7 separate regions of the Homo sapiens genome follow, and regions 2, 3, 4, 5, 6 and 7 are each linked to region 1. Evidence: promoter capture Hi-C in 16 types of primary human blood cells and fetal thymus (Javierre and others, 2016). All regions are on one chromosome and are shown on one strand. Each heading gives the region's core, a stretch centred on a gene start or on the middle of the fragment in contact. The rest is flanking DNA. Distances are from core to core; before and after follow the strand shown.

Region 1 (4,128 bases), core at 1,105-3,604:
AAAAGTCAGGGTTTTGCCCAGCTGTCAGGGCACAGGGGCTTCCATCCCTTCCCTTTCCAATGCACATGCTAAGGAGATATGAATACCTGGTTGGAGAGCGTTTGCACCTTGACAGCATTCCAGGGCACTGCCTGGCCTGGGTTGTATGCAGCCTTCACCAGCACCTTCTCACCCAGCTGGGGCAGACGGCCCTTCACCACACTGTCAGCACACAAGCCAGAAGGCCCCATCAGAAGAGGGACCCTGGCCAGGCCACCCTGACTGCCCCTATGAGGCCTTTCCCATCAAGATTTCCCACACCTTGCACAAAAACAGCAAAGCAATGGCTTTGAGGCGGGTGGGGGCAATACCAGCATGGTGACAGAACTGAATCCAATAAGCATTTCCGTTAGGGGACCAACCTCAAGCCTACCTTAGCTGAAAAAAGACCTCTTCATCCACAACCCCAAAGTAGTCATGCAAGCTGGTAACAATACCAGTGAAGACCCGCTGTTTCTCCCCACCCTGTAAGAGAAGGAGACAGCTGAAAAGTAAAAGGGAGGAAACTGGACAAAATCACACTCTGCCATGAAGGTCTCATCTCAACCCACGCCCCAGCTCAGCGTACTGCATCAAGAGTTCGCACAGAGTGAAGTACAGGTGTGGTGGGCATACTCCATCATTAGGGGTTGGGGCATGTTTGAGCTGGTTCTTGACCCACAAGCTTCTTCTGGGATTTCCAGTTCATTAATTCCAAGACGTAAGCTAAAGATTTCCCTGGAGCGAGAAATGAAGATGCCCCAGTCTGAAGGCTATCTGGGCAACCCCATACTAGCCCACTACCAGGAGAGGGATCAGGAATGATAAACACTATTATGTAAGAGAAAAAGAGCACCAGGCCTCCATGCATTCAGTCCCAAGGGCTGAAACTTACTACAAGGGATGCCGAACCTACCTGAAGGTGCCTGGCATTCTGGGACAGTTCTGTGGCCACAGGAGGAGTGAGCAAACCAGGAGGAGGGCCCAGAAGAGATGTTGAAGCTGTGCCTATGGGGAAAGAGAAGCAATCTCCAGGAACCGCCCCTACCACCTTAAGCACGAGTCAACCAAAGGATGTGGTAAATCCAAAGGCTACAGCTCCAGCCAGCTCCTCCACAGAGCTTCACTGGCAATCACTGTGGGCATCTCCTGCTTTCCAGAGGAACATCAGCAGCAAATTGCTCTCCACCAGGGAAACCCCAAACTAACTCCAGAGCACATACTTCCCAGGATGAGGCCAGGTAGGGAGAACAGTGATCACCTGAGAAGTTGCGTCCCCCTGGAAGCGGGTTGATCCGCTGGCGCTTAAACTGGGACATTGGGAACGCTGTCCTCTTTCAGAGTCGTGGGGAAAAGGCTTCAATCCAAAAAGAAAGAAATTAACAGCTTATAAGGGAAATTTCCATCTATACCCGGAAAAGTGGAGAATCTTAAGTAAGGATATTTCGGAAAACAGGGAGGTGGGTAATAAGAATGAATGAAAGCAATGGATGGAGAGAATATAGAGAAGAAAGAAATGAAACAAGAAATTACATTGTTCCAGTTTGCCCTGACAATAACCTAGTGGTGCATGATACTGTCATGCTGTTTTACAGACAAGGAAACTGATGCTCAGAGAGATCAAGAGACTTGCCCGGGGCCACATAACCAGGTAGTGACAAAACTGCTACTCACACCCAGGCCTCCCAACAACTTAGCGCTCCTCTCACTATGCCACGCCACCCCCAGAGTAGCTGGCGGGGTGAGGGGCTCGAGAGAGCCCCGATGACATTCCTTCGTTCAAAAACATCCGCCAAAACCCTCCACGCAAGGCCCGGAAAAATGGAGGAGGCCGGTGCCGGCGAGGAGACTGTGTGGGCCCTCTCCCCGGAAGCCCGACCCGTTGTTTCCTCGACCGGCTGGTGGGAAGGCAGCTCCCTGGCCGACCAAACGCGAAACCGGCTGCGCGCCACCCTCCTGCTCCCACGCTCCCGGGCCCTCCGCTCCGGCCTCAGCAGCCGCCAGCGCCGGGTCTCCCAGCAGAGCCGCGGCGAGGCCACCAAGGGAGGACTGAGGCGCGCGGTTTCTCCTCCTCCCGCCCGCCCCCAAGGCCGAGGCCGTTGCCAGGGAGACGGGACTTGCAGTCCAAAGAGGGGCTCGGCCCCTTCCGCGCCCCACGCATCTTCGCCGCCCGGCCCTCGCAGCCCCTCGGCCAGCGGAGGGGCGGAGGGGCGAAGGGGCAGAGGGGCGGCAGGGGGCCCCCCAACCCACCTGCGGGCCAGGGCAGCGACACCGGGGGGACAAAGACACCCGGAACCACCACAGCCGCTGCTGCCGCCGCCACCGGAAGCGCCTCTCCGGAAGCGCGACCACTGGTCGGAAGCTGCCGCTCTCCCGGATATGGTCCCTCCCTCGTCTCCGCCGACCTCTCCCTTCCCCCACGCCGGCTTGCCATCCCGCGGCAACTGGGGAGCGGAAGTGCGCCTTCCCGGATCGGATGCGCGTCAGGAAGTCGCGCCTCGGTAGTGTCCTCGCTAAAGAATCCCATCAGGAAAGAAGGCTTCGGATCATTGGTTCCGGGCTCAAAGGAAGCGGGAGCTGGGCCCCCCAAACACAAGGGACCCCCGACTGCCTACCACGCTCGCCTCCCTCTGGCAGTCGAGACTGCAACAGATAAGGAAACCAGCCCCTCCTGACTGGAGGAGAAGGATGCCTATCAGTGACCATTTCTAAGAGACATTCCTGGTCTGACTCAAGCCAGTGACCACCATGCCTAGCCAGTCAGGAATCAGTGCCCTAATTCTCAAATATGAAATCTAAGAGGCCTCAATGAAATGACCTGCTCAAAATCTTGCCAGGAGACTGGCCATTTTAGTCCCCATTAGCAATCCCAGCCCCCCCTTATCCTCCGACCTCCCCATCATCACTCCAGCCTTACTTTCCCCTTTCCTATTCACCTGAGGTTTACAAAGCACTTTGAGGCAGTTTAATCTCACTTTATCCTCATAACAAGTCTGTGAGGTAGATAGGGCAGGCATCATTATTCCCAGCGGGAAGCTGTGGCTCAGAAAGGTTGACTTGGGGTCTAAAAACTAGTACAGGCATCTGGTTTGAATTAAGACCTGTAAACGCTAGTACGGAGCAGAGAAGCTGAGCACTGGCTTTGAAAGTTATTCAGTTCCCAGGTTGTCCCTGATCTTCCTCATTCCTTGTGCAGTCTTCAGGAGTCCGGGGCAAGATTCCATGCAGAGGCAGCCAAAGCCACACCGTTCTCTGTCCCAGGGCTGCCAGCATGGCTCTGAGGAGGAAAGCTCAGTAACTGCCCACTGGGGAATAAAGGTCAGTTCCATCCTTCTGCAGTGACCTCCCCCAGAATATCAACCCTTTGGATGCATTATTTCAGAAGAGATGGTTGGATCCAGCCAGCTTGCAACACTGACAGTCACACAGAGATATGCATACCATTGCGCATAAATACACATCTGCAACATGCTGGGCCCAGACAGGTCACCATGCCAAAAACACTCCACGGACACCTGACAATGAGTGAGTTCACATTGTGGAAGCCCAGGGATTTCTGGTGAGGAGGAAGAGCCCTGGAGCTGCGGCATCTTGGGGGCCTCTCAAGAAACCAAGGTTCCTGACCAGACTGCTTAGAGGAGAAAGATTCAGCCCTCGACTCAAGAGAGGAGGGCAGGCGTCAGCAGCTTTTCCTGGCAATGTGGAGAAGCAGCAAGAGGGCAGAGGGCGAGGAAGACTTCACAGCAAGTCCCCTCCACCCAGGGTCACCAGGTGCACCGAGAGGTCTCAGCCTACAGAAAGGTTTTTTGCTCGTTGCTTCTTAACCACTAATGATGGCATAAAGGTCTTCCGGTGGGGGCGGCACTGAGGCCTTTCAGGGAGGTCCCTGGACTCGATCCTGTGGAATGAAAAGAAGACATTAGGCTAGAAGGGGGAAATAAAACTAACAATGGCCCTAGAGTTGAGAGAACGTGGTTTATCTGCTGGTGGGTAGCTGGGTGTGGGCGCAGCCCGGGGCTGTTAAATGACTTGGTATTTCTTCCTCCTGGAGAACGATTCAATACAAGCCCCGAAGCATGATGGCCTTCACCCACTGTGAAATCCTTTGTG
Region 2 (4,128 bases), core at 947-3,446, 460 kb before region 1:
TTTTCTGGGCTGGCCAAGGCTGGAGCCCGCTCCCTCAGCTTGCACGGAGGTGTGGAGGGAGAGGCGCGAGCGGGAACCGGGGCTGCGCGCGCGGCACTTGCGGGCCAGCTGGAGTTCCGGGTGGGCGTGGGCTCGGCGGGCCCTGCACTCGGAGCAGCCGGCCGGCCCTGCCGGCCCCGGGCAATGAGGGGTTTAGCACCCGGGCCAGCGGCTGCGGAGGGTGTACTGGGTCCCCCAGCAGTGCCGGCCCACTGGCGCTGCGCTTGATTTCTCGCCGGGCCTTAGCTGCCTTCCCGACGGGCAGGGCTCGGGACCGCCATGCCTGAGCCTCTCACCCCCTCCGTGGGCTCCTGTGCAGCCGGAGCCTCCCCGACGAGCACCTCCCCCTGCTCCAGGGCGCCCAGTCCCATCGACCACCCAAGGGCTGAGGAGTGCGGGCGCACGGCGCGGGAGCACGGCGCGGGACTGGCAGGCAGCTCCACCTGCAACCCCGGTGCGGGATCCACTGGGTGACGACACCTGGGCTCCTGAGTCTGGTGGGGACGTGGAGAACCTTTATGTTTAGCTAAGGGATTGTAAATACACCAATTGGCACTGTGTATCTAGCTCAAGTTTTGTAAACACACCAATCAGCACCGTGTGTCTAGCTCAGGGTTTGTGAATGCACCAATTGACACTCTGTATCTAGCTAGTCTGGTGGGGCCTTGGAGAACCTTTGTGTCCACACTCTGTATCTAGCTAATCTGGTGGGGAAGTGGAGAACATTTGTGTCTAGCTCAGGGATTGTAAACCACCAATCAGCGCCCTGTCAAAACAGACCACTCCGCTCTACCAATCAGCAGGGTGTGGGTGGGGCCAGATAAGAGAATAAAAGCAGGCTGCCAGAGCCAGCAGTGGTAACACTGTGGAAGCTTCCTTCTTTCCCTCTGCAATAAATCTTGCTACTGCTCACTCTTTGGGTCCACACTGCCTTTATGAGCTGTAACACTCACCTTGAAGGTCTGCAGCTTCACTCTTGAAGCCAGCGAGACCACGAGCCCACCAGGAGGAAAGAACAACTCCAGACCCACTGCCTTAAGAGCTGTAACACTCACTGGGAAGGTCTGCAGCTTCACTCCTGAGCCAGTGAGACCACGAACCCACCAGAAGGAAGAAACTCCGAACACATCCGAACATCAGAAGGAACAAACTCCAGACACGCCGCCTTTAAGAACTGTAACACTCACCGCGAGGGTCCGAGGCTTCATTCTTGAAGGCAGTGAGACCAAGAACCCACCAATTCCGGACACAGTACCATGAAGGAATGAAAATACATAACAATGTGATGTATCATGTTTTATTTCCTAGACTAGTGACAAATGAAAGCTAAGTGTAGCAAGGGTGCAGGGACACAGGCACATTTGTGGACTAGGTGTGAGTGTAAGCTGGGTTCGATGGTCTTTTGGCCAACATAGTGAACCCCTGTGTCTACTAAAAATACAAAAATTAGCCAGGCGTGGTGGTGCAGGCCTGTAGTCCCAGCTACATGGGAGGCTGAGGTGGGAGTATCGCTTGAACCTGGGAGACGGAAGTTGCAGTGAGCCGGGATCACACCACCGCTCACCAATCTGAGCCACAGAGAGACTGTCTCAAAAAATAAACCACAAGGAAGGGAGGTAGGGGGAGGGGGAGGGAGGGAGGAAAGAGAAAGAGAGAAAGGAAGGAAAGAGAAAGCAGGAAGGACGGAAAGAAGACGAAAGAACGAAAGAAAACGAAAGAAAAAAGGAAAGAAGAGAGAAGGAGAGAACAGAAGGGGCAGGTGCCCCTGGGAAGGGGAGAAGATCAAGACGCGCCTGGAAAGCGGACTCTGAACCTCAAGACCCTGTTCACAGCCAAGCGCGCGACCCCGGGAGGCGTCAACTCCCCAAGTGCCTCCCTCAACTCATTTCCCCCAAGTTTCGGTGCCTGTCCTGGCGCGGACAGGACCCAGAAACAAACCACAGCCCGGGGCGCAGCCGCCAGGGCGAAGGTTAGTTCCGGTCCCTTCCCCTCCCCTCCCCACTTGGACGCGCTTGCGGAGGATTGCGTTGACGAGACTCTTATTTATTGTCACCAACCTGTGGTGGAATTTGCAGTTGCACATTGGATCTGATTCGCCCCGCCCCGAATGACGCCTGCCCGGAGGCAGTGAAAGTACAGCCGCGCCGCCCCAAGTCAGCCTGGACACATAAATCAGCACGCGGCCGGAGAACCCCGCAATCTCTGCGCCCACAAAATACACCGACGATGCCCGATCTACTTTAAGGGCTGAAACCCACGGGCCTGAGAGACTATAAGAGCGTTCCCTACCGCCATGGAACAACGGGGACAGAACGCCCCGGCCGCTTCGGGGGCCCGGAAAAGGCACGGCCCAGGACCCAGGGAGGCGCGGGGAGCCAGGCCTGGGCCCCGGGTCCCCAAGACCCTTGTGCTCGTTGTCGCCGCGGTCCTGCTGTTGGTGAGTCCCCGCCGCGGTCCCTGGCTGGGGAAGAGCGTGCCTGGCGCCTGGAGAGGGCAGGGAGAGAGGGGGACACGGCGGGGGTGCGTGGCCCGGGTCGCCTGCGGCCGGGCATGTCCGGGCAAGACGCACCAGTCGTCGGAGTCGGGGGAAGAGATGGGTCCCCGGGTTGGGCAGGAGCGACCTGGGCCGCCAGGGAACAGAGCGCGCGCTCCACTTGGTGTAAATTCCCGAATCCAGTGGGGGAGGGCGACAAGGAGGGAATTCCCGAGTAAGCTGCGTGAAGCCACGGAGAGGTCGTCGGACTTTGATTTTGTTTTCTTTCCTTACTTTCTGTTTCTTTCTCTTTTTCTCTTTCTTCCTTTCTTTCCCTCCCTTCCTTCCTCGCTCAGTTCCTGCCTTAATTTCTTTTTCTTTTGCGCCTTCGAATGAATTCCTAAAGGCGCTCATTGCAGATCGCTTTGAACCTGCGGCCGGCGAAGAACTCCCCTGTGGTCGCTGCGGCCCAGTGGTTCCGTTCCGTGCGCGGGAGTCGTCGCGGGCGCAGCTGGAGAGGCCCCTTCCCCTCCTTAGCGGCTGCGCCCCTACGCGTGCGGGGCCGCTCATCGCCAATGCCATTGTTTGGGGTTCCTTGGGAAAACGAGATTTAGGAGAAGGGAGTTGTGGCACTTGGGGCCTGACCTGCTTGATAATAGCAGCTGCATTTTGGCCTGGGAAGAGCCTTTCTTGCCACCTCTTGGCAAGTATCCGTGATAATGGGGAAGGGACAAAGAGTCGGCTTTGTAGGGAACAGCATGGTGTGCTCAGCGCCTGGAACTGCGCTTGGGGCCAGGAGAGGTTCTGAATCATCACATTTTACAGAGGAAGAGACCGCAGCTCAGAGTGGGGAAGTGTGTGGGCCTAGACCTAACTCAAGACTGTACAGAGGGGCTGGAAGGGAGAGGAGGAACAGTGAAAGGAAGGTCAAGAGAATGCTGGTGTTGACCTAGAAGAATGTCAGTGTGAAGCATTGGAGTTTCATGGGATATTGTTACACACCTCATGTTTTCACTGTTTCCGCCCCACACCACAGTATGTCCTTGGTCTCACCTCTGAGTGGAGGGAGGACCTAACTGTCCTAGTGAGGAGAGTGTACAGGGGCCTCTGCCTCCCCCTCCTGCTGTGGTTTCTGTGGGCCTAGGTCCCCAGGGCATCTTGCCTCTCTTTGGGTGGTGGATCTTTGGTCTCTGGCTGCTTTTAAAGATTTTTCTTAGCACTGGTTTGCAGTGATTTGGTTTGTTTGCTCTGTTGTGGGGTTTTTTTTTTATCTCTATAAAGAATTTTTTGGATTTTTGGCTTTAGACTTTCATGTTCTTTCTACTTGGAAGATTTTTCTGTAAAGAAAGCCACAACTGGGTTGTGTTGAATTTCTTGGATTTGGGGTTTTAGAGTTTATGTTCTCCTTGGAGACTTTTCTGTAAAGAAAGCCACAACAGCCGGGTCTGGTAGCTCATGCCTGTAATCCCAGCACTTTGGGAGGCCGAGGCGGGCAGATCACATGAGGTCAGGGATTCGAGACCAGCCTGACCAACATGGTGAAACCCCGTCTCTACTAAAAATACAAAATTAGCTGGGTGTGGTGGTGGGCACCTGCAATCCCAGCTACTTGGGAG
Region 3 (4,128 bases), core at 1,011-3,510, 410 kb before region 1:
CCATTCTCAGGTCTGTGCTAGCACAGCCCCCTGGGACGGAGGGACACTGGCAGGATACAGGCCTTTCCACGTCTGGCCTTTTGCAGCTGCACCCCAGGATGTAGAAGCCTTGAGTTGGGCTCTGAAGGCTCAATTTCTACCCTGACTTCTCCAGTGAGGGTGTGAGTAGGCTTCGTGTGGAAATGCCCACAAAACAAATGCAACACTCAAGTCCGTCGGTGGAAAGATATGGCCAACAGGGGCAGGACCCTCGAGGATCACTTCTGCTTGCTGGGAGTGGGGCTGCCTCCCTGGCCAGAGCAGCAACCAAGACACACAGAGAAGCCCTGGAGGCTGGGAGGCTTTCCCTTTGACTCTAGGGCTCTCAAACCCAGAGATAAAATGCCAGGGCTCTTCGCTCCTCCAAGCAGTTGTCTCCCGTCCTGCTTTGGGTCTGGGGACCTCTGCAGGTGGTTCCCGTTCTGCTCCACAGGGCTCAGCTCCTCTCTGGCTGAGCCACGGTGGCTGGTAAGAAGAGCTCCACCCTCTGGGTCCTGGTTACGTGGGCCCCCTGGTCCCTGTAAGGTGGATGGGGTGATGCGGAAGAGCAGAGGGGTGAAGGCGGATGGGGACAACAGCAGCAGGGTCAGAAGAGGGTGGCAGCATCTCAGACCACAGCCGAGGAGGAAGATGGGGATGAGGAGGAGGCTGCCGAGGAAGACGGGGAGGATGGACTGTTCCAGAAGAGCCAACGCCGTTTGGGCTGCCGCTTGAGGTGGAGGTAGTCCTCCTTCTCACGCTCCTTCCGTGCCCGCTGGTAATGATCTTCCTCCTTCAGGTACCACACAGGTGGCCACCGATGCTTCTCGAAATACTCCTGGTTTTCTGGAGCAGAGAGCAGGCAGCTTGGTTAGAAAGGAGGCAGAGGGACAAGAGGAACGTGGGACACCAGCCCTACCCCACCACAAGGCCTGCAGCAGGCCTCCAGCCCAGCCCCCAGCACATCCCCATGACCCACGGCACATGAGCCTCCGAGGCAAGCAAAGTTCCCAAAGAGCAGGGCTGAAAGTCAGCACTGGGGAAGGCCTTTCCAGCTGGGTTCCTTTCCAAAGACGGGCGATCTAGACAAGGGCTTCCTGTGCGTTGGGAATGAAACAGAGGCGAAGGATAAGGGAGAAGGGGTAAGCGAATGTCAGCCAGGAGATACTCAGCATGGTTAGGGGATGAGAGTGGAAGTTTCTGGCCAGAGCTAAGGTTCCGAGGGGGAATACGGAGTCAGGACACAGCAGGACACAGCAGCAGACCAGAGGAACGGCTGGCCTTATTCTGCAGGGTATGGGGGGCCATGGAAGACTACTGTTTCAGTGGAAGGTCTGGAAGCAGGGAGTGATGCTATTGGACCTGTGCTTTAGAAAGAAAATGCTAGCCTGGGTGCAGTGGCTCATGCCTATAATCCTAGCACTTTGGGAGGCCGAGGCAGGCAAATTGCCTGAGGTCAGGAGTTTGAGACCAGCCTGGGCAACGTGGTGAAACCCCGTCTCTACTAAAATACAAAAAATTAGCCAGGCATGGTGGTGGGTACCTGTAATCCCAGCTACCCGGGAGGCTGAGGCATGAGAATCACTTGAACCCAGGAGGTGGAGGTTGCAGTGAGCCGAGATTGTGCCACTGTACTCCAGCCTGGGCAACAGAGCAAGACTGTCTCAAAAAAATAAATAAATAAATAATTTTTTTTTAAAAGTGTTGTAGTAGTGAAAAGGAGAGATCGGGGTGGAGACTTGGCAGCATGAGGCAAAAACACGGCAGCAGGGAGGAGGGTCACGGCAGACTGGAGGGAGCCCAGAGAGGACCCCATGGAAAGAGTGGCAGACCCTTCAGGGAGGCCAGGGACACCTCTCCCTGGAGCCTGTGCAGTTTCTGTTGAGTTCTAGGGCCTAAGAAATTAATCAAGAAGAGACAGGAGGCCTCAGAGGATGCCCAGACCTGGGTGGTCCAAGCTGTGGCCTGTACCCATTCCTGGGTTGTACCATCAATTTAGTGGGCCATGAGCAGCATTAGAAAGATGTATATATTTTCCTATATGTGTCCTGGGTCACAAGATGAAATGTATTTCTTACGGTATTCTGTCCAGAAAAGTCTGAAATCTACCAACTTTAGTCCAGTATCCTCTTCATACCTCTGAGAATGAGAAGCCCAGAGAGGCAGGGTGAGTTGCCCTCCAGGCCAGCACTTTTCCTGGGGCCCCTTGGCTTGGCTGGAGGCTCCTTTGCAGGCTGCTCCCAGCCCCAAGGTCAAGGATTACTGGCAGCCTCGGGGTCCCTGGGATTACATGGGAGCTGTGCACCCCTAAGGGGAGGGCAGCAGGTACTGCCAGGACTGGCCCCGATGCTCACCTGGGGACATGGCCTTCATGTCTCGGGGGAACTTGCGGCACACGTTGTTGTAGTTGGTGCAGATGTGGTGGAGACACCAGTCGGCCAGCTGGTACGCACAGTGGAACTGGGGACAGAAGGGAAGAACGTCTGTACTGAAATCCCCAGGGGAGAGGGTCTGCATAGACACCTCCAGCTGCCTTCAGAGCTGAAGCTCTGGTGCAGGGCACGCAGAGGCCCTGCAGTTCTAGAGAGCCTGCGCCAGAGGCAAGGCCACACAAAACTGAGGATGATGATGCTGCCTCAGGCTCCTTGGCACCACCGCCAGCACCACCATCATCTCACCTCTGTTCTGCCCACTCCTGGCATCCTCGCTGCAGACACCAGAGCCCTATGTAGTGGCTTCATACTGCATCTGCCCTCCTCAGATCTCAACCTACCTGACTTCTCTCTCCTCCACATCTGGGATCAAGGCAGCCTGCACGGAGGCACTGACAATGAGCTAAGGGAGCTGCCTTCCCAGGGGTGTCTGCAAGCCCTGCCTGAGCCGTGCTTCCACTCCACACACTAATCTTTGGTGGCTGAATTTCTGGCACTGTGAAGGCCACTGTGGGAGATTTGGCTTGTTTGTTTGGGATTAAGGGAGTAGGCGGTTAATTTCAGATGGAAAGTCCTCAGTGCCCCTTAAATGACCTCAGGCAGGCAGCAACCATGTGTAAGCCTGAGCCTGGGGTTCCCTCCCCAGCCCTACTGCTGCCTAAAGCCTCATCCCTTCCCCACTTGGTCAGCTCCCCTCCGGGTACACCAGGGAGTTCCCCAGCTGCTTCCTGGCATGGAGGAGGAGATGGGCTACGCGCAGTCAAAGAGCCCAGTCCGATGACAGGTTCTCCCGCATAGACCATCTTCCACCCCTTCCCATTCGCAGCCAATGGGCAGGCAGAGTGTAGAACTGAGACTGTTGTAGATTCCCTCCCCTGCCATGATACCTGAGCCAGTTCCAGGAACACAAGGACGTCCCCATCGATGTCCACCATCATCTGGGTCGCTTCCATCAGCCCGGTCACTGTGTACTGCTCTGTAACACACACGGCCACCAATCAGCTGAAGAAGCACATGACCTGTGCTCACCCTGCCCCACCACATCCCCCAGCTCACTTCAGGGTGAGGAAAACCAGGGCCCGGGCAGGTCCGGACAGGCCAGGAAAGGCCCCAGGCTATGACGTCTGCTGCCACCAGGGGGACCCCAGGGATGACAGCAAGAGCTCAACGGGGTAGGGTAGGAAGAGAAGGAGGACATTGGAATTACCTAAGAGGATTTTTCAAACTACGTATGTCCCGTGACATAATCTGATACAGGTAGGGTCAAAGTTCCCAACAGAACCAGCCTCTGATACAAAAGGGAGAGTGTGTGAAACCTCATGTCTGCTGATCACAGAAAAAGGCTGAGAACTGTGAGTTAGAACTAGGAGTTAAGTCTAGTTGTTTGTTTTAATTTAAATTTTGTAAAAAATTGTGTACTAACCTTGTATTTTAAGTTAAAACACTTATATTGAAGAAGTAAACACCCTTGGTTCTGAATTTTAATTAGAAGTATCAGTATAAACTCATGAGGTATCTTATCTTTAAAAAGATCAATATATTTCCCAGCTCTGCCCCCAGAAAAGACCTAGAAACAACAGTCATCCCAGTACAATGAGCATTCCTAGTGCACACAAATACCAGTTCCACTTCCAACACAAGAAACTAGGACTTCCTGGAGAAATGGCTGATTCCAGGT
Region 4 (4,128 bases), core at 1,629-4,128, 390 kb before region 1:
GCCACCACACCTGGCCCAGAGAACTGTTAAGAACTGTTATTCTAACCACAGGCTTCCTCCTCCCAATTCTCTCTCCTGAACTGAGGACCGGGAACCCCACTTTGACAGTTCCTGATCTCAAGTTGAGGAATGTGCTGGCGCCAGGAGGCAGCATCTGGGCTGTGGTTTCTGTTTTGTCGAGTGAATACCAAAACAGATATAATCCCAAATACAAAATATGTGCAGCTGGAGGATAAAGATTAAAACCCAAGAGCCAAAAGAACTTCTTTCTCAAGTTCCGATTCTCCCAGCATGTAGGTCTGTAGACAGAAGCGGGGGAATGAGGAGGCCTAATGGAGGGATGCCAGTTCTCAAATTCAGGAGCACCTTGACAGTGAGAATAATGCCAGAACACCAGCAGAGCAGTGCTGGGCCAAGTTCAGCTACTTTGTGATGAAAACACTGCTGCCCACCTGTGCTATGTCACCTCTAGAGTTAAGCAGTGGTCAGCCAATCAACAAGTGGAAATTGACAAATACTGTGCCATGAGTTTAGACATCAGACCTTCTGGGTTGCGCAACCCCTTCCATCCATTCCCCAGCCCCTTCAGCAGTCCCCTTGTCCTTCAGCTGCCTCTCTGTTTGTATCATCTCACCCTTTCTACCCTGTCCCAACTGCCTGACTGGCAAACTTCACTGTCCTATCTAGGAAGAGGCAAGTCACTTATATTTTCTGGGCATCAGTCTCCCCCTCTGGGAAATGGGTATGAAGACATTGGAAGAGTCTCCTGAACCGTGGTTAATTTGTGCCAAGAGAGGCTGGGCTGAAAGGAGGTATTTGTCTTCTTATGTAATGTGGTATTATATAATGCTAGATTGCATATCTATATGTGTAATTATATCTGTCTTTAAGATACAGACTGGCCCAATTCAAGTGTTAGAACTCTTAGTCTAATCAGGCCTGTCTTAAAGGAGGATCCTGTCCTGGAGAGAGTGTGCCAAGAGTAATATAATTTTTGCCCTAGGATGTTGCTGATGTTGTATCATTGCTGATGTATGGTGATACAGCCCACTCATTGCTGATATATGGTGATACAGCCCATTCAGTGAGCCTCTCAGCTTCCCCTCTCCCTCCGGCTCTCTCTTCTTCCCTGACTCCAGACTCTCCCTCACAATTGCCTCATCCCCACTCAATCAACCTCCATAAACTATGACCTCCTCACCACCCAGCCCTGGGCATCACAACCCCCAACTCACTCCTCTTCCATGACAATCGCAAAGTCACTGGCATGTGTTCCTTCCATCCCTGTCCCATGATCCCTGTGCCCCTCCAAAAACAGCCTCCTGCCCACCGCTCTCCCAGCTCTTTGTACTTGGTGCAAGCCAAAACCCAAGGTGTGCTGAAATTAGCTACAAACCTCGTGCTCTCCCAGTCCCACCCCCACACCCCTACACACACTCTTTGCAGAGCTCAGAAAGGGCCCCTTTCCCTCCCACAGCTGATAGGAGGCTTGTTCATCTGTGGCTGCCCTAGTCTGGTTGTCAAGGAAACAACAGAATCTCCCTGGGAGCCTGGCTTGTCTCCTAGCAACCAGTATCCCACATCATCTTACAAAATGGGAATGGGAGGAAAATCCTGAAAATGAAGGTAAAATCAAGGGAGATGGATTGAATGGAGAATTGGAAGGAGAAGAACAAAGAGAGAGTGGACTCCTAATTCGGGGAGGCTCCCACGGGGGTCGCTGGCATTGCAAGAAGCCCCGTGCAGATCCAACAGAAAGCAAGGCCCAAAGGGACCCTGAATGGTCAGATTAAAGAAATGCAAGCCTAAACACAGATAAGCCCCCTCAAACCTAAAATGTGGACACATCACCAAACACCGCCAAAGATCTCCCCAGTAGTTTCACAGAACTCAGTTACATAGACTGCAATGGAGTTGAGTTCAAAGAACCAGCTCCGGAACCGCCAGCAAAACACCCCAATTCCACTGTTGTTTTGTGTTTGTTTTCTTAACAGAATCACTCCCACCACTCTGGACCGTTTTTCCTTTTTTCTGACACGCTACTCTGCACACACACAAAATAGAAATTTAAAAATTTTTAAACATCGAGAAGGGGGAGGGGCACGACAGGCCGAAGCAATCAAGTCATCTTCCTTTCCCTAGAAACACCGGAAAGGATTAGGCTCCAGCCCCGCTGTACCCAGCAGCCGAAGCCAGAGCCCAGGGACTAGCGGGGCCCGGGGAACGTAGCGAGGGGCGCGGCAGGGCAGGGAGGGCGGAGCGGCGCGTCTGCAAGGGCTGCTGGCCACCCCGCCATAACCGCAAGCAGCCATCTACTTACACCACTACATGTGACGGGGTGGCTTCTAGCGTGAGGAACACATCTCTTCCTGCTGAGCACGCTCATTTTAGTGAAATGTCAGGGGTCCCTCCGCGCCTGCAAGTTGGGACGACGCCGGCGCCGCCGCGCTGCTGCTGGGCTCCAGCCTCCCGGCCAGCTCGCGGCCACTCAGAAACTCCGGCAGGGCAGCCCAGGCCGGACGTGGGCCCAGGAGCGGACGCGCGCGCTGCACTGCAGCCGCTGCCCCTTCCGGATCAGCATCGCCCCGCGCGCCAGGCGCCCAATGTCACGGCGGCGCGCGGAGCCGGGCTGCGGAGGCAGCGGGCGGCGCGCAGGGGCGCCGGGAGAGGGGCGAGGCCGCCGCCGCTACGCGCCCGGGCCCGCGGCGAAGGCGCTGCCGCGAAGACGCCTGGCGCTGCAGTCCCAGGTACCGCTCGCGACCTCCTTTTTTCATTCACAAAAAAAGGATAGGGAAAAAAAAAAGAAAAGAAAAAAACGGGAGGGTAAAAAAAGGAGGAGAAAAAAATCGCACCCAAGACGACAGCCGTGACGGGCCCCGCCCACTGCCGCGCGCAGTTGGTGGAAAGCGTTCGGGGGGCGGGGAGGGGGCGGGCGGGGGAAGAAGGGGATTGGACGCCCCGCAGATCCCGCCTCGCAGCACCGCTCCCGCCCACCGCCCGCGCTCTTCCGCCCCTCCCGCAGCGACGCCGCGGGGAGGGTCTCGGCTCGCGGGTCTGGGTGGCGCCGGTCCCTCCACCTGGCGAGGCGCAAAGGCTCTCCGGACGCCCACGGGGTTTTCCCCTTTCCTTCGGGAGGCGGGGGAGAACCTCTGAGAGGCATCCTAGTGCACCCTGGAAGGGATGCTAGTTGGAGGAGAACGTGTGGTTGTAAGCCCAGGCCCCCACCACTTGCCCACGGGGAGGCGACGGCAGGGGCAGTCGGGGGGGCGGGGGGCGGGGGCCGGGTAGGGACGAATAACCGGCGTTTCCATACAAGCCCTCTGCTGCTTTGGGAATTTTCGTGGCACTTGAGAGCCTTCCTCCCTCCATGGCCCTTAATGAGTTGTGGGGTGGGTACCTGTACCACGTTACCTGTCTCCCACCTAGGCCTTCTTCAGCGGGTCCCCACCTCCATCCCATCCCCCTCCTGTTGCCTCCTGGAGTTCAGTAATAGCTGCTAATCTCTGAAAGAAACACCATGAAGTGAGTAGCCTCGAAAATCGTCCCTAAGCCTTCTTTGGGTTTTCTGCCTCAATTTACCCCTCTGTAAAATAGAGAGATTCTAAGGTATAACATCTATAACCTGAGGGGTCCCTAGAAGACACTTTCCATATTCAAGGCTGGTTTTATCAGGATAATCTTTTTTTTTTTTTTTTTTTTTTGAGTCTCCCTCTGTTGCCCAGGCTGGAGTGCAGTGGTGCAATCTTGGTTCACTGCAACCTCCGCCTCTTGGGTTCAAGCAGTTCTGCCTCAGCCTCCCGAGTAGCTGGGACTACAAGTGCACGCCACTATTCCCAGCTAATTTATGTATTTTTGGTAGAGACGGGGTTTCACCACCTTGGCCAGGCTGGTCTCGAACTCCTGACCTCGGGTGATCTGCCTGCCTTGGCCTCCCAAAGTACTAGGATTACAGGCGTGAGCCACCATGCCCAGCCAGGATGATCTTGACTGCTAGTGTTAAGTAGTCAGCTCAGTCTGGTTTGATTCATCTCCTCAGTTACCTCTGGACAATTTTTAAAGCCCAGACCAGCCTGCCACCCACCTGAACCGCCTCCACCACTCCTCCATCTTGTGCTCTGAAAATGCAAA
Region 5 (4,128 bases), core at 530-3,029, 380 kb before region 1:
AGACCCTAAACTCGTCTGGAAAAGCTGGCACTTTGCTGTAAGAGTATGCCAGCCAGGAGTGGGCCTATTGCTCATTCTGCACACCAAGAAAACACACTGAGTTGCTTCAGGGGCAGGCAGTGGGGGGACAGGGCAGCTGACTGCACCCACCTCTGTCCCTTTCAGCTTCACCCCTACCCCACCTCCCACCTCTGCCCTCTTTCAACCCCCACAGAAGAAGCCTGGACTACCCACAGCTGCAAATTCCTGAATTCCCTAATTCGAGGCAAGGACCTGGTGTCTTATTCAAATGAATCTGTTTGGCAAAAGACCCAGCTCTCAAAACCAGCCTACTTACAACAGTCTAGAGGGGCCTGCCCTGGCGAGAGAATGTCTCAGGGCTCCACTGAAGTACAGAAGAGCAGTAGCCAGGGTGAGGGGGTCCTACACCAGGAATGAGCTGCGGGTAGCTCCCCCAGACTCATCCAAGCTCTCTTTCTTTTGAATATCGATAAAATTCAGCCTAGGTTTAAAAATGATTGTCACCACAACCAGAGATAAGGAAACATTTCACTTTTACTGGGTGGTTGAATCAACTCCAGCCAGTAAGCATTTCTTGAATGAGTTCTGGCAGGTGTGCCAGGCACTGACAACTTGCTTTACAACAGGAAATGAGATCGTAAGAAAAGAATATGTAATCTGACAAGCAGACCTTTTATATGTACTGAAATAGAATTCTGGAAAATACTTGTATAAATCTCAGAGACAAATCAGTTGGTGGTTTAAAATTGGAAAAGTTGTGAACAAATTCTTTTGCTTTAATCTCTACAAACAGATAACGTATCATACTTGGAAGAAGAAACATCACCAAGCAATTTGGTGTTTTCTTTTGATTGGCTGTGGCTGAAAGAGAAAGTTAAATATAGGAGATGAGAGCAAATTTAAAAATATTGTTTTTGGGTCACGGCTATGGGGTGAGGTGCACTTAATGTAATCAAGTTGAAACACGAAGTTGTAATTTGGGATTTCTAAAGTATTTGGGACATCACACAAAGTTGTTAGAAGAAAAGATTCCTTGGAATTTAGAGCTCTGATTTTAAATATCCACAGAGTTTGTTTTTTAAAAAAACTTGGTGTTGGACATTAGTTCAGAATTTCACTTTGAAGACAGCTAGCATAACAATCAAAATTGCCCCGATTAAATGAACTGGCCCTTCTGTTTTTCAAAATTACTAAGGAATTTGGTGATTAAATGAATTCTTATTTCTCTTCACACTGGTAAGGTAAATACACAAGTTTTTCACTGTTTATCTTCATAAATATTCTAATGTAACAATTGAATACGTAAAATCTGAAGGATTTAAATTTACTAGTAAATGATTTCTAGCAAGTAAAAATAGGCAATGAACATGCAGTTATAATTCATGAAAAAGGAAATAAATATAGAAGCAACCATTTAAAAAGGTTTTGCCTTACTTAGTAATTTTTAAAGTGAAAATTAGATTAATTTTTAACCTATCAAATTGGTGAGGATTTTAAAGAGTGATAATACTCCTTCTGCTTAGTAGGAGTGTAAATTAGCAAAATATATCTGGAAACTAATCAGATGATATATGCTACTTCTTTTATTGACTCCCACGTGCACATAAATAAACCTTTTTTTCTCCTATTAATCTGCTGTTTGTCAGTTCAATTTACAGCCCTCAAATAATGAACCTAACAGGATAGAGGAAAACTTTTCTTTTTTGCTTCTCTACATATATATTAAGAGGCTTAAAAGAATTCTTATACCTGGCTGGGCACAGTGGCTCACACCTGTAATCCCAGCACTTTGGGAGGCCAAGGAGGGTGGATCACGAGGTCAATAGATCGAGACTATCCTGGCCAACGTGGTGAAACCCCGTCTCTACTAAAAAAATATAAAAATTAGCTGAGCGTGATGGCACGCGCCTATAGTCCCAGCTACTCAGGAGGCTGAGGCAGGAGAATTGCTTGAACCCAGGAGGCAGAGGTTGCAGTGAGCTGCGATCGCTCCACTGCACTCCAGCCTGGTGACAGAGTGAGACTCTGTCACAGAGTCTCACTCTGTCCCAAAAAAAAAAAAAAAAGAAAGAAAAGAAAAGAAAAGAAAAAGAAAAAAGAAAAAAGAAAAAAAAAGAATTCCCATAATTTGGCTCAAGAAAACTCTACTAACAAAATCTAAGGAAATAATCACAAGTCAGGAAAAGGTTTATGTATAGGACGTCATAAACACTAGTGATAGTGGGGAAAAAATGAAGAAAAAAATAAACTGTCCTCCAAGAGGGGATGTCTTCAATAAATAATGGCGTATCCATAAGATAGAATCTGTGTGGTACATGCGTGCACACACACACATCCACAGTACATGATTGTACACAAAACCAAAAAAAATTCATACACAAAGGATAGAAAGAACTATTACAAAATATAAAAAGTAGTTATCTCCGGATGGTAAAATTATTGTTCTTAGAATTTTCTTTTCTGTATGTATTTTTATATTTTCCAGATTTTTACAATATGTATGTAATACTTTTAGATTGGAGTGTTTGAGAGAAGCACAGATTTATTTATTTACCAAAATAATAAACAAATTAATTATTTTGAAAGGAAGGGAGGAAGAAAGAAAAATGTTTGGAAAGATCTTTTATTTCCCTTGTAAAATGTCATTAAAGCAACAAATATGGGTGGATTTTGTTTTTCTTAGGGTAAGAACAGTATTTTAATTATTTTATTGCATCCCAAAGGTCAGTGATAAAAGAAAATGTAATTTAACCAAGTCAAAACACAAAGTTGCAACTTGGTATGTTAAATAACTTGGTTCATAAAAGATTCTAATAAAGATGGGAATATATGTATACATCATGGCCATATATAAGATAAAGGAAGACAGGCAGGGAACTACTTTCTGTAAATAACTTTTAAACTTACTTTCAAAGATAAGAAAACATAACAGGAAGTTAAGTTAAAAAAAACACATGATTTCAACATCTGAATACCAACTATTTTTAGTTATTCTATTTGCATGTCATATACTGTTATATGTTTTTTGCTTTTTTATCAGATATTTACTCGTAAATGATTTCTAGCAAGTAAATACAGTCAATGAACATGCAGTTATAATTTATTAGAAAGGAAATAAATACAGAAACATTTTTTCCTTTCTTTCTTCTAGCCTCCTGTTACGTGGAATACATTCTGTTTTCTAACTTCTTATTGTAAATGTTTGCAAACATAAAAAAAACTAAAAAAAAAAAAAGTACAATAAATACTGATATTCTCCTTACCTAAACTTAACAATTGTTAAGTTTTGGGGTTTTTTTTGTTTTTTTGTTTTTTTTTTTTTTGAGACAGATCTCGCTCTGTCGCCCAGGCTGGAGTGCAGTGGCACCATCTCGGCTCACTGCAAGCTCCACCTCCCGGGCTCACGCCATTCTCCTGCCTCAGCCTCCTGAGTAGCTGGGACTACAGGCACCCGCCAACACGCCTGGCTAATTTTTTGTATTTTTAGTAGAGACAGGGTTTCACCGTATTTTGGGGTATTTTTTAAATAAACTGAACAATTGTTAAATTTTGGGGTATTTTTTGGGCCATAACTTTTCAAAATAACTTGTAGACATCATGTCACTTTACTCCTAAATACCGATTTTTTATTTTAACACAATTATTTTAAAAGATTTAAAAAGAAGATATTTTTCTTTTTTTAGAGATGGGGTCTCACTATGTTGCCCAGGCTGGAGTGTGGTGGCTAGTCACAGGCGCAATTCCACTACTGATCAGCACGGGAGTTTTCCTTCCTTAGGTAACCTGGTGGTCCCTCATTCCCAGGATGTCACCATATTGATGTGGAGCTTAGTGCAGACATCTGGTCAGCATAGGACTCTTGGGCTCAAGCAATCCTCCCACTCCAGCCTCCCCAGTAGCTGGGACTACATGCCTGAGCCACCATGCCTGGCATTACTCCTAAATATTTTAACATGAATTCTCCTATATAACCACAAAACCACCATCACATTTAAGAAAATTAATAAAAATTCCCCAATATTATCTAGTACCCAGTTGATAATCATATATCCCAATATGTCCCCACACATTTTTATAGCTATTTTCTTATTCATACCTTTTTAACAG
Region 6 (4,128 bases), core at 735-3,234, 350 kb before region 1:
AAATATTGAAAGCCAAAAGAGCCAGTGCACGTCTACAAAGACTGGGATGTAACAAAAGCCCACCAACAGCTTTGCCTAGGCCTTTCCTGGGCCTTAAGGCAAGACAAGATAATGAAGAAATACTTCACAGGACCCGTTTAGGATTAAACACATTTATTGGGGGTCTGAAGAAACTCCCCAAACCTCCATGGCTTAGCAGGAGACAAGATAAGGGTAATCACCCCAGCACCTGGACCCATTTTGATTACACAAATTTACTGAGGCTCCAGAGGAAGGTCTTTAGGACTCAGATCTTAGTTATAGATTAAAAAAAAGTTAATCACTTATGTCTGTAAATGAACGTACTCTTACACATAGACATATAGCTTAGAAGGTATATAAGCTTTGGAAAACTTTGTAATTTTGAGTTGGCCTGGCGATATTTTGCAAACCTTCCCCCTGTGCCCTGTTACAGAAATGAACTCCGTCCTTTCCTAGTTCATCTGCATCTCGTTATTGGGCCACAAGAACAAGCAGCCCAACCCTCAGTTTGGTCCAGGAACACACATGCTGCCCCAGGTGGGAACAGCGTGGCTTCTTTGTGCCTGTGGGCAGGGGACAAAAGGGGCAGCAAGTGCCCTTTGTCAGCTGAGTAGCCAAGAAGGGCTGGCTGTCGGGGATAATCAGGCTTATGAAGCCCAAATCAGGGATGTGTTTGAAAAACAGCCCAAAGCAAAACTTAAGCAGAAAGAGGATATTTGCATAATCTCAGAGTATTTCCTCTCAAATATTTAGTGATCACAAAAGAGCAAAATAGTGAGCTTACAGTGGAAGATCCTGGAAGACACCACCTTAACCAAGCAGTGAAGATCAGCCTCACCAGGAATACACATCGGCATCCCACACCCCTGATCTGAAGCACCGAGAAGAGCTCATCATCTCTGTGGCATCCTCTGCAATAATATATCACCTCAACCTAATTGTGAGGAAGAGTTCTGCAAGGTATCTAGCCAGTACCCTTCAAAATGTCAAGGTCATGAAAGACAAGGAAAGACTGAAGAACAGACTAGGGCTAACTAAGGATGTGTAACATTGACTACAGTGTGGATCTAGGATTGGAAGCTGTATTAATTCTTTCTCACACTGCTATAAAGAAATACCTGAGGCTGGGCACCGTAGCTCATGCCTGTAATTCCAGCACTTTGGGAGGCCGAGGCGGGTGGATCACCTAAAGTCAGGAATTCAAGACCAGCCTGACCAACACGGAGATACCCCGTCTCTACTAAAAATATAAAATTAGCCGGGCATGGTGGTGCATGCCTATAATCCAGCTACTTGTGAGGCTGAGGCGGGAGAGTTGCCTGAATCCGGGAGGCGGAGGTTGCAGTGAGTCAAGATTGCGCCATTGCACTCCAGCTTGGGCAACAAGAGCAAAACCCTGTCTCAAAAACAAACAAACAAACAAACAAAACCTGGAGATTGAGTAATTTAGAAAGGTTTAATTGAAGTTTAGTTGGCTCATGATTCCACAGGCTGTACAGGAAGCATGATGCTGGCATCTGCTTGGCTTCTGGGGAGGCCTCTGGAGACTTACAATCATGGCAGAAGGCAAAGGGGGAGTGAGCACTTCACATGGCTGGACCAGGAGGAGGAGGGGGAGGGGCTACACACTTTTAAACAACCAGGTCTCATGAGAACTCACTATCATGAGAACAGCACTGAGGTGATGGTGCTAAACCTCTCATAAGAAACTGGTCCCATGATCCAATTACCTCCCACCAGGCCCCACCTCCAACAATGGGGATTACATTTCAACATGAGATTTGGGTGGGGACATAATCCAAAGCATATCAGAACCTGAAACAGAAAAAGACAATAACGGGAAAACTTGTGAGCACTGAATAAATTCTGTGGCTAATGTCCTAGCTTTGGTAACTGTTCTACAGTTATGCAAGACATTAGTTATTATTGGGTGAAGCTGGGTGTAAGGTATATTGAAAATTCTCTGTACTGTTTGTGTAACTTCTCTGAAAGTATGGAATCAATTGGAAAAAATACACCCCATGAACTCACAGGGGTGGGTTGAGGGGCAAACCAAAGGTGAGCATAGGTAGGGTCCCAGAGCCCTTCCTTAGTGCCCGTCTCCATTTGGGATTTAACTTCTTCATCTGCCTTTGGGGGGAAGCTCCAGGAGGTGGCATCCTTCCATATCCTCTATACCCAGCGCAGAGTGGGCACTAAAGATTTGTTGAGTGTCTGGGTACAGTGGCTCATGCCTGTAATCCCAGCACTTTAGGAGGCCAAGGTAGGAGGACTGATTGAACCCAGGAGTTTGAGATCAGCTTGGCCAACATAATGAGACCGCATCTCTACAAATAATTTATAAATTAGTTGGTCATGGTGGTGCACACCTGTAGTCCCAGCTATTTGGGAAGCTGAGGTGGGAGGATCCTTTGAGCCTAGGAGGTCAAGGGTGCAATGAGCCATGATCATGCCACTGTACTCCAGCCTGGGTGACAGAGAGAGACCTTGTCTCAAAAAAAAAAAAAAAAAAAAAAAGATTTATTGAATGAATTGATGGATGGATGAGATCCTGGTTTCCACAATGGAAGCAGAATTGACCTCCACAGTGAGAATCTTCAAAGCAACTGCAATTGTTAAAGTCTGTACATTGGTCTAGAGTCCTGGAGGACATGGAGCCAGAGTGGGGATAAACTTGGCATTCGGTAAACCTCGGGGGCCACAGTTGTCCCAGTAGGTTCCTTTTAATGGTTTGGGATGCAAGTGCTCTTCCGAAAGGCGGTGCAGGGGCTACTGCAGTGCGGAGTCATTTGCACTCACAGTCTCTTCCTAGAGCTTCCCCGCTTTTGCTGGGTTGTTGATTTTTTTCTGATTTGATTTGCAGGAGCTCTTTATACATTCTGGGAAAGTGGATCCTTTACTGGCCATAGGCAATGCAATAGTTTTTATCTGGGGTATCTTTTCTTTTTTTTGAGACAGAGTCTCACTCTGTCACCCAGGCTGGAGTGCAGTGGTGCAATCTCGGCTTATTGCAACCTCTGCCTCCCTGGTTCAAGCAATTCTCGTGCCTCAGCCCCCCAAGTAGCTGGGACTACAGGCGTGCTCCACCATGCCCAGCTAATTTTTGTATTTTTAGTAAGACTGGGTTTCACCATGTTGGCTAGGCTGGTCTCAAACTCCTGACCTCAAGTGATCTGCCCACCTCGGCCTCCCAAAGTGTTGGGATTACAGGCGTGAGCCACCGCACCCAGCCATCTGGGGCATCTTGACGAAAGAAAAGGTTTTTGTTTTAGATATAGTCAAATCTATGGTTTCCTTGGTACAGTTTGTGGTTTTTTTTCTGTCATATTTCCTTCCCTACCTTAAGGTACTAAAGATATTCTCCTGCATATTATTCTAAAGATTTAAAAGTTTCCATTTTAATATTTCATTTTTTAATCCACCTGAAATTTGTTCTGTTTAAAGTATGGCATCACAACATGATTTTATTTTTTCACAGTGAATCCAATTGTCTCAACACTATTTGTTGGATAGTGTGTCCTTTTCCCTATTCACTTGAAATGTCACCACTGCCAAGGAAGCTTGTAATAAACAAAAAAGATTATTAAGTGTCTGCAATAGAAAACGATACATAGCTTAGAGCTCATTCTTCCAGGTTCTCTGATTCATTGAATTAAGCTATTTTACAACTTTATACATTGTAGATAACTAGCAGCCAATAGAGTGATTTTTGTCTATACATACGTTAAAAAACAAAAACAGAAACAAAAACAAAACAAAACAAAACAAAAAAAACCTGTCTGGTGGAGCTTCAACTGACATTCCCTTTCCTGCTGTGGAAGAAGCCAGTTAGTTTTGCTGCCATTTTCATGTTCATGTCAATATCTCTGATCTATCAATGTGTCCATTCCTTGGATTGCCCTTGTAAGATCTTACCAGTTCCCTCATTAATGGTGAGTTAAATAAAAAATCTACCATGTGTTCATTTTATGTCTGTGTGAGAGTGATGATTTTACCCTTTTTGAAACCACCCTTTAACAGTCACATATCGATGGCATATAGCTTGAAGCAAACACAAAGGGATCAATTAGATAGCGATTATTCACTTATATAAGCTCTTCCTACATG
Region 7 (4,128 bases), core at 986-3,485, 350 kb after region 1:
GCGAGACTCCGTCTAAAAAAAAAAAAAAAAAAAAAAAAAAGAATAAAGCCAAGGTCCCTACCATGGCCTAAAAGCCCTCCAGGGCCAGGTCCCACCCCTCTCACTCCCTCAGCTCCAGCCAGTCTCTGTCTTACTCTTCACTCAGCCCAGAGCACTCTCCCCACCTGCATCTGATCCCGCTGGTTCACTTCCTCAAACGATACCCTCTCAAGGAGACCTACCCTACTTGCTGCAACATGCCCGCCACCACCCAGAATCCCCTGCTCCCTGCAAGTTCCCAAACTCTTGTCACCTTTTAACGTCCTTCCTTAAGCTTATCCTGTCTCCCTCACTAGAGTGCAGGCTCCTCCAGCAGGACACAGCCCCTAACCACTGCTTTCCTAACTCCTGCAGGGTGCCTAGCACACAGCAGGCACTTTCTTCAGGTGTGCCAGGGTCCAGCTACAGCTGTATGGTTCCCCAGAGGCAGCTGGGGCTGTGGGATTCCCTCACCCCTGGCTGGCAGCTGTGGCAGTGTGTTGTGTTCCGGAACTCAGTCGAGCTTGAGTCTCCACCCTCCTGATTGTGGCAGAGGGTGTAGCTCCCTCACCATCTGTTCTAGGGGGTGCTGATTCCTGGATGCTTAACCTATGGCTCACTCCTCCAGCCTTCCAACGAGTCTATAAACTTCTCTTCTTGTATTAACTCTTTCTGAATACCTAGAATGGTTTCTACTTGTCCAGTGAAACCTCATGCACGCCCTGGAAAACACACAAGATAAAGTCTCCAGGCCAACAGTGATCAAGACTGCATTTTTCTTTTTCTTTCATGTAAGCTTTCTATTTTTTTTTTTTTTTTTCTGAGATGGAGTTTCACTCTTGTTGCCCAGGCTGGAGTGCAATGGCGTGATCTTGGCTCACCGCAACCTCCGCCTCCCAGGTTCAAGCAATTCTCCTGCCTCAGCCTCCCAAGTAGCTGGGATTACAGGCATGCACCACCACGCCCAGCTAATTTTGTATTTTTACTAGAGACGGGGTTTCTCCATGTTGAGGCTGGTCTCGAACTCCTGACCTCAGGTGATCCGCCCACCTTGGCCTCCCAAAGTGCTGGGATTACAGGTGTGAGCCACTGCGCCTGGCCCATGTAAGCTTTCTTAAGATGTAAAGACTGCATTTTTTTTCTGACTATATCTTAAATGTAGATGAGCCAAGTAACAAAGTCCAACTTCTGACTCAGTTTTTGGGAAGACAGATCAGTGGTTACCCCAATGGAAGGGAACAGAAGAAATGCTTTAGAAGAGCTGAGGCAGAAAGTGGCCATGCAGAGGGCTCCTAGAACTGGTGTCCCATCACCATCTCTGTTTTTTCAGATGACACCCCTAAGACCTGAGCCCCTTCTGGGCCCCACACTCCACCTGTAGAACTCTGATGGGGCCTTGTGCGGCCGAACCACAATCCAAGAGAGGTGTTCACATCATGTGTCGCTAGCCACAGCCATCTCAAGGGGAAATGCCCCAAATGTAGAAGTATCTGACACCAGGACTGGGGGTTGGAGCACTGGATGAACAGCGTGTGTGCCACTCTTTCACTGTGCACCGTCCTAAGAAAGAAGCCTGTTTCCCTTTGAAGAGCCTAGTGCTGACTGCCCAATTCAATCGGACCACGCAGGGCAGTCTGAGGATTAAAAGATGCTACCTTTAATTCCTTCGGCTAATTCAGAAGTATGTGAAACACAACATACTCATTAACATGGAAGAACTGGATGTGTGTGCATGTGGGTGTGTATTATTTATTTTTCAGAGACAAGGTTTCACCATGTTGCCCAGGCTGGTCTTGAACTCCTGGGCTCAAGTGATCCTCCCACCTCAGCTCCAGAGTAGCTGGGAACGAAGAATTGTATGTATTTCTGAGTGAGATAGAGTACACGATAAAACCACATAATTTATATCATTATAAATAACATACAAAATTTTGGAGGCTGAAATAATATACATGAGCAGTCATAAAATACAATGAAATCATGTGCTTTGCAGCCACATGGATGGAGCTTGAGGTAATTATCCTAACCTCGGAAACAGAAAATCAAATAGCACATGTTCTCACTTATAAGTGGGAGCTAAATAATGGGTACCTATGGACATAAAGATGGAAATAGCAAACACTGGGCACTCCAAAAGGGGGTGAGTGGGAGGGGGGGCAAGGGTTGAAATGCTACCTGAGTACAATGTTCACTATTTGGGTGATAGGTATGACAGAAGCCCAATCCCCACCAGTACGCAATATACACAAACACGCACATGTGGCTGGGCGCAGTGGCTCACGCCTGTAATCCCAGCACTTGGGAGGCTGAGGCAGGTAGATCACTTGAGGTGAGGAGTTTGAGACCAGCCTGGCCAACATGGTGAAACTCCCGTCTCTACTAAAAATACAAAAATTAGCCAGGTGTGGTGGCATGTGCCTGTAATCCCAGCTATCTGGGGGGCTGAGGCGGGAGGATCACTTGAACCTGGGAGACAGAGTTGCAGTAAGCCAAGATCACACCACTGGGCGACAGAGTGAGACTCCATCTCAAAAAACAAAACAGAACAAAACAAAACAAAACAAAACTAACATGCTCATGTACCTGCTGAATCTAAAATAAAATAATATACACTAAAATGTTAAAATTGATTTTAGTAGAATAAAAGGTGACTGAATATTTTAAAAAGTTATGCCTAGATGAATACTTTATGATTTTACATTGCAGCATTTTTTGAACATGGCAGCAGCTACTATGAATTGTCTATCCAACTGCCACTCCAGCTTCCTCCCTACTAACAAAACCCCAGCTCAAGGGCAAGTGTGCTCAGTGCCAGGGGATACACTAGTCGACCCATCCCCCTTTGCCAGGGCCTGGTCCAAGAGTGGGCACGTGGCCCCACTCTATAAAGAGACAGGGGGGAGGTTGCTGGAGCTGCTGACGGTTATTCCCGGATAAGGGCAGAATGAGAAGGCTCCTGTACTACTGTCCACTCTGGCTGTGGACACCATCATTTGCAGAATGATGCTTGGCGCAGGAGCAGCCATTCTGCAATACTGAGGATGGCAAAGCAGACGGTTCCAAGGAAATCCTGATGACATTTTGGCTTCCACCCAACTCTAGAACCATCTATTTACAGACTTTTTGCTATGTGAGATAAACATTCCCATTGCTTAAGCCACCGTCAGGCTAATTTTCTGTTACTTGTGCTGATCACATCCTGTTATAGGCAGTTATCTGTCTGGCACCGAATAAATGCCTCATGTTCACTCTAATTTAAAAGCAACCCTATTAAGCTACTACTGTCTCACTCTTACATAAAATAAAATAAATAAAATCAAGCTTAAAGAGGATAAGTGATTTTTTCCAACCAAAGTTACTGGTGGAGTCAGATTCAAACCCAACCGTGACTCGACAGCCTGGACTCTGCCACTTAAACATGTAGTTAGAAAAGTGTGCAAGCCTATTGTTCCTTCTTTCTGTATTTAACAGAAAGCATATACACAGATGCAGGGAGCAACAAATTTGCATCCACTTGCACTCATGTATAAATTTGGCTTTGGGCTCTTCTCCTCTGTCATCTGTCCATATTCCTTGGTAGAAATGCATGCCTCAGGGGCCTGACCAAGAAGGTGGACTCTCCTCTCTTTTCCCACACTTATTAATAAGACCTAATTTGTGCATCAGGGATCTGAGACAGGTTGTGAGGACTTTGATACGGAGTCATAAGGTTCAAGCCAAGACATCTGAATGGGCGAAATGAACGTGAAAGCAGTACATGTTCTTCCTCAAACTTTCTTGGAAGGGTCAGAAAACAGAAGATTGAAAAATACCCAATATCTAACATCGGGCCATTGAGTTCGTCCAAAAAAAGCAGAAGAGTATTTCTGAACCAAAGAAACAGAATAGAAAGAGAGGATGAGAATGGAGACCTGCTGGCCGTGCATCAGCTATTTAAAGGAAGAAAGGGCTGGAGCCCAGAGTTAACCAAAGCTTAGCCTTAGACCAAACAGGGCTTCCCAGCACAGGTTTCCAAGGAACCCTTTCTGCTCCAGTCCTCTACAGTGAGAAGAGCCCAGAATAACACTGTCCAATGGAGCTGACATGAGCTTCAGCACCAGAAAGGGTGAT

Evidence for each region. The method cuts DNA at HindIII sites, captures the fragments that hold promoters and counts their contacts. A CHiCAGO score of 5 or more calls a contact.
Region 2: the fragment with the promoter of TNFRSF10B here is called in contact with the fragment with the promoter of CCAR2 in region 1 in 2 of 17 cell types (naive CD8 T cells and total B cells); the score reaches 5.5 in naive CD8 T cells.
Region 3: a fragment that was not itself captured here is called in contact with the fragment with the promoter of CCAR2 in region 1 in 5 of 17 cell types (naive B cells, fetal thymus, naive CD8 T cells and 2 more); the score reaches 7.0 in naive B cells.
Region 4: a contact is called between the fragment with the promoter of RHOBTB2 here and the fragment with the promoter of CCAR2 in region 1, in 3 of 17 cell types (total B cells, M1 macrophages and naive B cells). The highest score is 6.2, in total B cells.
Region 5: a contact is called between a fragment that was not itself captured here and the fragment with the promoter of CCAR2 in region 1, in 1 of 17 cell types (fetal thymus). The highest score is 5.8, in fetal thymus.
Region 6: a fragment that was not itself captured here is called in contact with the fragment with the promoter of CCAR2 in region 1 in 1 of 17 cell types (endothelial precursors); the score reaches 6.5 in endothelial precursors.
Region 7: a fragment that was not itself captured here is called in contact with the fragment with the promoter of CCAR2 in region 1 in 1 of 17 cell types (endothelial precursors); the score reaches 6.8 in endothelial precursors.

Annotation. Positions count from the first base shown.
Region 1 is chr8:22,602,983-22,607,110 of GRCh38, reverse strand. It overlaps CCAR2 (cell cycle and apoptosis regulator 2), which reads right to left and starts at 2,354. Exons shown (of 21, transcript NM_001393997.1): 1 at 2,269-2,354; 2 at 1,280-1,375; 3 at 935-1,026; 4 at 413-504; 5 at 87-201. The coding sequence starts at 1,337. It overlaps C8orf58 (chromosome 8 open reading frame 58), which reads right to left. Exons shown (of 7, transcript NM_001013842.3): 7 at 2,969-3,916. The coding sequence ends at 3,805. It overlaps LOC107986876 (a long non-coding RNA gene), which reads left to right and starts at 2,111. Exons shown (of 1, transcript NR_160769.1): 1 at 2,111-3,978. RefSeq lists silencers at 1,937-1,996, 2,057-2,356 and enhancers at 2,020-2,520, 2,527-2,636. The HindIII fragment of the contact is 4,257 bases long and covers 706-4,128 here.
Region 2 is chr8:23,067,099-23,071,226 of GRCh38, reverse strand. It overlaps TNFRSF10B (TNF receptor superfamily member 10b), which reads left to right and starts at 2,196. Exons shown (of 9, transcript NM_003842.5): 1 at 2,196-2,476. The coding sequence starts at 2,333. It also overlaps the pseudogene TNFRSF10B-AS1. RefSeq lists enhancers at 1-375, 697-991, 1,773-1,942, 1,963-2,012, 2,553-2,812, a cis regulatory region at 2,206-2,211 and promoters at 1,666-2,336, 1,104-4,128. The HindIII fragment of the contact is 4,380 bases long and covers 914-4,128 here.
Region 3 is chr8:23,013,988-23,018,115 of GRCh38, reverse strand. It overlaps RHOBTB2 (Rho related BTB domain containing 2), which reads right to left. Exons shown (of 10, transcript NM_015178.3): 8 at 3,338-3,426; 9 at 2,373-2,478; 10 at 1-864. The coding sequence ends at 647. Among named protein-coding and RNA genes, the nearest start is that of RHOBTB2-AS1, 16 kb to the right of the region's middle. RefSeq lists enhancers at 3,474-3,523, 3,025-3,789. The HindIII fragment of the contact is 9,071 bases long and covers 1-4,128 here.
Region 4 is chr8:22,998,298-23,002,425 of GRCh38, reverse strand. It overlaps RHOBTB2 (Rho related BTB domain containing 2), which reads right to left and starts at 2,878. Exons shown (of 10, transcript NM_015178.3): 1 at 2,321-2,878. It overlaps RHOBTB2-AS1 (RHOBTB2 antisense RNA 1), which reads left to right and starts at 2,621. Exons shown (of 2, transcript XR_007060857.1): 1 at 2,621-2,747. RefSeq lists silencers at 2,169-2,218, 2,549-2,718, 2,939-3,198. The HindIII fragment of the contact is 10,673 bases long and covers 1-4,128 here.
Region 5 is chr8:22,977,702-22,981,829 of GRCh38, reverse strand. All of the region lies in intron 1 of RHOBTB2-AS1 (RHOBTB2 antisense RNA 1), which reads left to right. It also overlaps a transcript of RHOBTB2 not described here and the pseudogene RN7SL303P. Among named protein-coding and RNA genes, the nearest start is that of RHOBTB2, 20 kb to the left of the region's middle. The HindIII fragment of the contact is 5,747 bases long and covers 1-4,128 here.
Region 6 is chr8:22,953,975-22,958,102 of GRCh38, reverse strand. All of the region lies in intron 1 of RHOBTB2-AS1 (RHOBTB2 antisense RNA 1), which reads left to right. It also overlaps a transcript of RHOBTB2 not described here. Among named protein-coding and RNA genes, the nearest start is that of PEBP4, 28 kb to the right of the region's middle. RefSeq lists an enhancer at 354-855. The HindIII fragment of the contact is 3,199 bases long and covers 385-3,583 here.
Region 7 is chr8:22,252,127-22,256,254 of GRCh38, reverse strand. It overlaps POLR3D (RNA polymerase III subunit D), which reads right to left. Exons shown (of 9, transcript NM_001722.3): 9 at 1,654-4,128. It overlaps PIWIL2-DT (PIWIL2 divergent transcript), which reads left to right. Exons shown (of 2, transcript NR_134293.1): 2 at 1,349-1,679. Among named protein-coding and RNA genes, the nearest start is that of POLR3D, 9.1 kb to the right of the region's middle. The HindIII fragment of the contact is 2,212 bases long and covers 1,130-3,341 here.